Linked DNA regions of Homo sapiens: region 1 is linked to region 2. The links are contacts of gene promoters, found by promoter capture Hi-C in human tissues and cell types (Jung and others, 2019). All regions are on one chromosome and are shown on one strand. Each heading gives the region's core, a stretch centred on a gene start or on the middle of the fragment in contact. The rest is flanking DNA. Distances are from core to core; before and after follow the strand shown.

Region 1 (3,240 bases), core at 542-3,041, 100 kb after region 2:
ATACAGACTAGGTGCAATGACTCACACCTATAATCCCAGTACTTTGGGAGGCCAAGGCAGGAGGTTCAGTTGAGCCCCGGAGTTCAAGACTAGCCTGGGCAATACAGCAAGACCCCATCTCTATTTTTTTTTAAGTTGTCTATGCCATACCACACCGAACACATCTGATCTTGTCTGATCTTGGAAGCTAAGCAGGATCAAGCCTGGTTAGTACTTGGATGGGAGACCCCCTCAAAATAGTTAGCACTGTAGGCTAAAGAGAAGGAAAAAAGGCCCATACAGGTACATATACCAAAAACATAAGAGTAGGGTCATTGTCTTTCTCATTCATGGTTCTTCCCCCCTTCCCCACCAGGGGACATTTTACAAATGTCTGGAGACATTTTGTTGTCACAACTAGGGAGGAGGATGCTATAGACAACTAGTGGGTAGAGCCCAGGAATGCTGTTAAACATCCTATCATTCACAGGACAGTCCCCCGCAACAAAGAATTACCTGGCCCAAATGTCAATAGTGCCAAATTTAAGAACCCCTGCATTCCCCAGCCCCCAGGACAGCTTTGCTGAATGAATTATGAATGAATGAATGAAGAAATGACTGTGGTCCTGATCAGCTGGTAGCAACGGGAATAGAGAGACGCGGTAGAATTCTTGTAGTTTTGGAGATTTTGGAGGTGTGTTACACAGCATTTAGGGTGATAGCCCCTGTCTTTTCCAGGAGAGGGTGTGTTCTGCCCTTGCCTGGAGCTGGGCACAATCCCATCCACTTGGGGCCTCAGTCACCCTCCAGCCCGACTCCTCCCCTCCCCCGACCACCTCCCCCAGCTTGGGAGTCCTCTGAGCTGCCAGGAAGCCAGGGTGGTTCCTTCGGGCAGGGAACTTTGCATGGCCATGGTGGTTCCTTCGAGAGAGGAACTTTGCATGGTGTCTGAATGGAGCAGGCCTGCGGAAGAGAAACCGCTGACCACAGACCTGCCTGGAAGTCTCGGGCCGCGGAGTTGGGGAGGGCCGGGCCAGAAGGGAGGGGTCGGAGTGGTGGGGAAAAGAGATCACGATGCTTCCGGGGTAGGGTAAGGCCTTTCCAGGGTGGGTTGGAATCTTTGAAGACTGTGGCAGGAATCCCTTGATAGGTGGGGTTAGGATCTCTGAAGGGCAGGGTTGGAATCTTTGGACCGGCGGTATAGACCCCTGGGTATTAAAACTCTTAGGCGGCGGGAGGTTAGATCGCGCAGGAGCAGGAGCGGTATTGGAACCCTGGGGTTTGTGTTCTAAATCTTAGGGCAGGGTTAGAATCCACTGAAGTGAGAGTTCGGATCCTTCCACTGGGCAGATTAGAATCTTTGGGGGCAAGTTGAGTTTAAAAATCCTTCAGAGGTGGGATTAAAAATCCTTTGGCGGGGCGGGGTTAGTATCTTGGGAGCCTTGGAGCGGGTGCTGGGGTTCTTAGACGGGCGGGTTCGAATCCCTAGGAGTGGGATTTGGGATCCTTTGGAGACTGGGGTAGGACGCTGGGCGGTGGGATGGGGAGGTGTTAGGGAAAGTGGAGCGGAAGGGATGGGGGTTCGCATCCTTGGTGGACGCGTTAGAAGCCTCCTATGGATGGTGCTAATATTTTTTTTCTCTTCGTGGAGGGTTTGGGATCCTTCTTGCAGGAGACGGAGGTTATGACCCTCGGGGAGCCGGTTAGGATCCTGGGGTGGCGTCTGAATCTTCGGGGAGGTGTTAGGACACTTGGGGCGGAGTTAGCCTCGCTCAGGGCGCGGCTAAGGCGCCCAGATGGCCTGCGGGCGCCACCACGTCCCTGGTCCCAGCTCGGGAGCACATCAGAGGCTTAGAGGCGAGTGGGAAGGGACTCAGACAGTGCAGGACGAGAAACGCCCGCGGCACCAAAGCCCCTCAGAGCGTCGCCCCCGCCTCTAGTTCTAGAAAGTCAGTTTCCCGGCACTGGCACCCCGGAACCTCAGGGGCTGCCGAGCTGGGGGGGCGCTCAAGCTGCGAGGATCCGGGCTGCCCGCGAGACGAGGAGCGGGCGCCCAGGTGAGTGCCGCGCACAGGGGACCGGGAATACCCGGCCCGCGAGGGGTCCCAGGAGGCGGAGGGAGCCCAGGAGCCTGGGGAGGGCTGGCTACGGGTGCGGCTGGGGGCAGCGAGGGGAGACGGAACGTCGGGGGAGCCGCGGGTAGCCCGGGGGATGAGGGGTCGACAGCGAGTGGAGGGTGCCCTAGGGAGGGGCGGCACTGTTGCGGACTGCTGGATTCCCGGGGAAGGGGACGCTCGGGCCCGTGCAGTGACTTTATCCACCACTTCTCTGGGCCGTCCAGGTTCCCCTTCTTGGGGGGGGGCGGGGATTTTTTTTTTAATTTAAAAAAGAAAAAGAAGGAAGGGATGGGGCTTCACAGAACCCGGGAAGGGGAAGGCCCTTACGGTTCCCGGTGGGGGCCGGGTCACGCCGGGTTGGCAGCCAGCTTGGGGAAGGGGGTAGTTGGGCGGAGGCGTGACGTGCGAGCCACACCCAGGCCGGCTGCAGCTGGTCGGCTCTCTGCCCCTCCTCCCACAACAGGTCTAGGTCAAACCCCCAAACCTCCTGGCCCCAGACCACACTGCATGCATGCCCTGTCTCTTTCCTCCTTGGACGAATTCTCCGCCTCCGAATTCGTTTCCTCATCTGTAAAACGGGGCTATGAAGTCTTTCTTGCAAGGATGCAGGAAATTGGAGTATGCGAGAGGTGGTGCGTGTGAGAGACAGGCTAGTGGGTAGCGGAGGGGGCTTCTAGGGGCAAACTGCCTGTTGGGGCTGGGGTAGAGGATTTGGCCTTTCTTTGCCTCTGTTTTCACAACTGCAGGATGGGGAGAGTAATAGTACCTCCTTCACAGGGTTGTTTAGAGGATTAATTGGGTACTGAAGGGGCCGGGCAGGGTGGCACACGCCTGTAATCTCAGCTTTTTGGGAGGCCGAGGCAGGTGGATCTCTTGAGGTCTAGAGTTTGAGACCAGCCTGGCCAACATGGTGAAACCCCGTCTCTACTAAAAGTACAAAAATTAGCCGGGCGTAGTAGCACACACCTTTAATCCCAGCTACTCGGGAGGCTGAGGCACGAGAATCACTTGAACCTGGGAGGTGGAGGTTGCGGTGAGCCGAGATCGCGCCACTGCACTCCAGCCTGGGCGACAGAGAGAGACTCTGTCTCAAAAAAAAAAAAAAAAAAAAAAAAGTTACTGAAGGAAAGCTTTGAGAATGCTG
Region 2 (2,802 bases), core at 55-2,554:
CTTCTCCAGCTGATTCTGAACTAGTAATATGAGAAACCCAACAATACTAGATTGGAACAGCAGGATTGGGGGCACTGAGACAGTGGTAACAACACAATAGCTACTAAGGAAGTGACGCAGTAGTACAGTATACTGCACGAGTGCTGGTTCTGGATTTGGAATACCCAGGTTCGAATCCTGCTATCTGCCTCAAGCTGTGTAATTTCACCTTCCTATTTACTCCTCCTCAAAATGGAGCTACGGACAGTACCTACCTTACAGGTTATTGAGCCAGCAATTAAATGACTTAACACAGTACCTGGCACATAGTAAGTAGCTGATAAACTTTAACTGCTCTTATTCTCATCCAGCACACCCTGATCCAGTACTTAATTTGACAGGATCTTGCCCAAGTTTTCCCCTTCTCAGTAAATACCTGACCCTTCTAACTGGAGATGAGAGGGAGTCACGACTCCCCCGGCTCCACTACCACGGCCTACTGAGTCTGTCTCCAAAATACATTTCTGACCCCTTCACTTCTCTCCACCACCACTACCTAGTCCAAATCCATCTCTGGTCTGGACCATACCAATGGCCCCTCACCCATCTCCCTGCCTCCGCCCTTGCCCACCTATATTCTGTATTCCACACAGCAGCCAGGGGGGATCCTTTTAAAACCTAAATCCAATTACGTCACCCTCCTTCCCCCAGGAACTCCCCTCAAAAACTTGGCACTTAAAACAAGACACCCCATAAACAGGGCGCCACCTTCCCCCACGTCCCCACCCCTGCCCGGTCACAAGGCCCCCTCAGGCTTCTTTTCGGTTCCAGCTCTCCCCTGAGGGCCTTTACAGGGCGGTGCCCCTAGATCAACCATGGGGCCGGGAAGTGCATTTTGAAACAGGTGCTCAGGGAAACGGCCCAGAGCATGATGGGTCGAGATCCACAGAGCATGGCAAGGGGCAGAGAAAGGATGAAGAGAGAGGAATGTCCAGCATAGCGCAGGCGCTCACTTAGTAGCGGCCGAATATTTATCGGCCCAGGTCTGTCGCCTCGGAGCCGTTAACCGCCTGTCCAGGTCAACTCACTGCGACCCCGCGCGCTTTCCCACGGCGCCGGCCGCCAGGCCCCAGCGCCGCGGAGGGGCCTCTCACCTGCCGCTTGTCCGCCAGCACCTCCTCGGCGAGCTCCTCCACTTCTACAAGGTACCGCAGCACTCGCTCTGCCTCGGGTGATAGCATAGCGCCCACCAACTCCGCTTGCGGCTCTCGCGCGACCCCGGGATCTCCGCTTCGACTCCCGCTGCGCACGCGCCGCTCTCTAGGTGCTTCCGGCGCGCCTGCGCAGTTAAAAGAACGGTGGTGCGCAGGCTCTAACACTAGTGCGCCAGCCGGCTGCGAGAGGCGGGGCCTAGCTTTGGGGGCGGGGCTGGAGCGCCCTCTGCAGGCTCAGAGAGCTCAGTCCTCGGGCTGCCTCTGACCCGTTACTCCCTCGGTTCATGCTTCTTGAGCACTTATTATGTGCCAAGCAGTTTTATGTGCTTAGGATGCAGCAGTGAACACAACAAAATCCCTGCCCTCATGGAACTTCATCCTAGTGGGAAACACCGACAATTAATGGCAAAACAATTATATACCGTGGCAGGTAGTGATTAGGATCTGGGAAATATTATTCTTCCCCTGGCTAAGAAACACCAAGAAGGCCCATGTGGCAGTGTGACTTATGTTTAATCTCTGACACTTTCAGTTTCTAATTTATAAAAAGGGGGTGAATAAAAATCCGCCTCAGTGTCTCTCCACAGGATCGGAAGGAAGCAGGAATCAGCTGGGCGCAGTGGCTCATGCCTGTAATCCCAGTACTTTGGAAGGCCAAAGCGGGGGGATCACTTGAGCCCAGGAGTTCGAGACCAGCTTGGGCAACACAGTAAAACCTCCGTTTCTACTAAAAATACAAAAAAAAAAAATTAGCTGGGTGAGGGGGGGCGCGCCCGTTGGTCCCAGCTACTCAGGAGGCTGAGGCGGGAGGAGCACCTGCATCTGGGGAGTCGAGGCTGCCCTGAGCTATGATGGCACCACTGCACTCCAGCCCGGGTGACAAAACGAGACTCTGTCTCAAAAAACAAAGGAAGCAGTAATCACTTTTAATTCCGTTTAACCAGAGTTCACTTGAGCCCCTGTGTTGGGCCCAATGTCCAGAGTAGCTGGCCTATACATAAGGAAGGGACTTGAAAACTATGGGCAGTAAGCAATGAAGTGCTAGCTCAGAAAAGCAGGTGGGTGTGGGTGGTAGGATTGGGAGGACTTCCCAGAGAAGGCAGGCAGGTGGAAAATGGTTACCATCAGAACCAGAGGGTTCCCACGAGGTCTTCACGCCCAAACTCCTCATTGGATAGCTGGAAAAAACAAACCTCAGAGAGAGGCAAGGCTTTGAAAAGAAGGTGAGGGGTGAGCCATGTGGATGCCTAGGAGAAGAGTGTTCCAGGCAGAGGGAACAGCCAGCGTATGTGGAACAGAATGGGCGGGGGGGAAGCAGGCAGGAGGTCAGAGGGAAGGAGGCATTGAGCCCACATGGCTGTAAAAGGCGCTGGGAAAGGACTTTGAAAGTCTAAAGAGCAGAACCGATATTATCACTCTGATGTCTCGCCTCCCTGATTCCAGCGTTTTATTCTCTCCTTTTGACCTCTTGTAACCAAGCCCCTTCACACCCCTTGCCTTACTTGAGTGTCAAAGCAACCTTTGTATGGATGGGATTATTACTGCCCCATTTCACAGCTGCAGACTGAGGCCAGGAGAAAGGCAGTGCCTCATCACACAGCAAGCCAGG

What was found. Contacts are between HindIII fragments. The study calls those that stand out against the background at their distance.
Region 1: the fragment with the promoter of HCK here is called in contact with the fragment with the promoter of PDRG1 in region 2 in 1 of the 25 tissues and cell types used here (mesenchymal stem cells).

What each region holds. Positions count from the first base shown.
Region 1 is chr20:32,050,451-32,053,690 of GRCh38, forward strand. HCK (HCK proto-oncogene, Src family tyrosine kinase) reads left to right here and starts at 1,792. Exons shown (of 13, transcript NM_002110.5): 1 at 1,792-2,036. The coding sequence starts at 1,975. It also overlaps the pseudogene RNA5SP482. RefSeq lists a silencer at 2,152-2,211. The HindIII fragment of the contact is 18,740 bases long and covers 1-3,240 here.
Region 2 is chr20:31,950,742-31,953,543 of GRCh38, forward strand. PDRG1 (p53 and DNA damage regulated 1) reads right to left here and starts at 1,305. Exons shown (of 5, transcript NM_030815.3): 1 at 1,134-1,305. The coding sequence starts at 1,220. The HindIII fragment of the contact is 6,454 bases long and covers 1-2,802 here.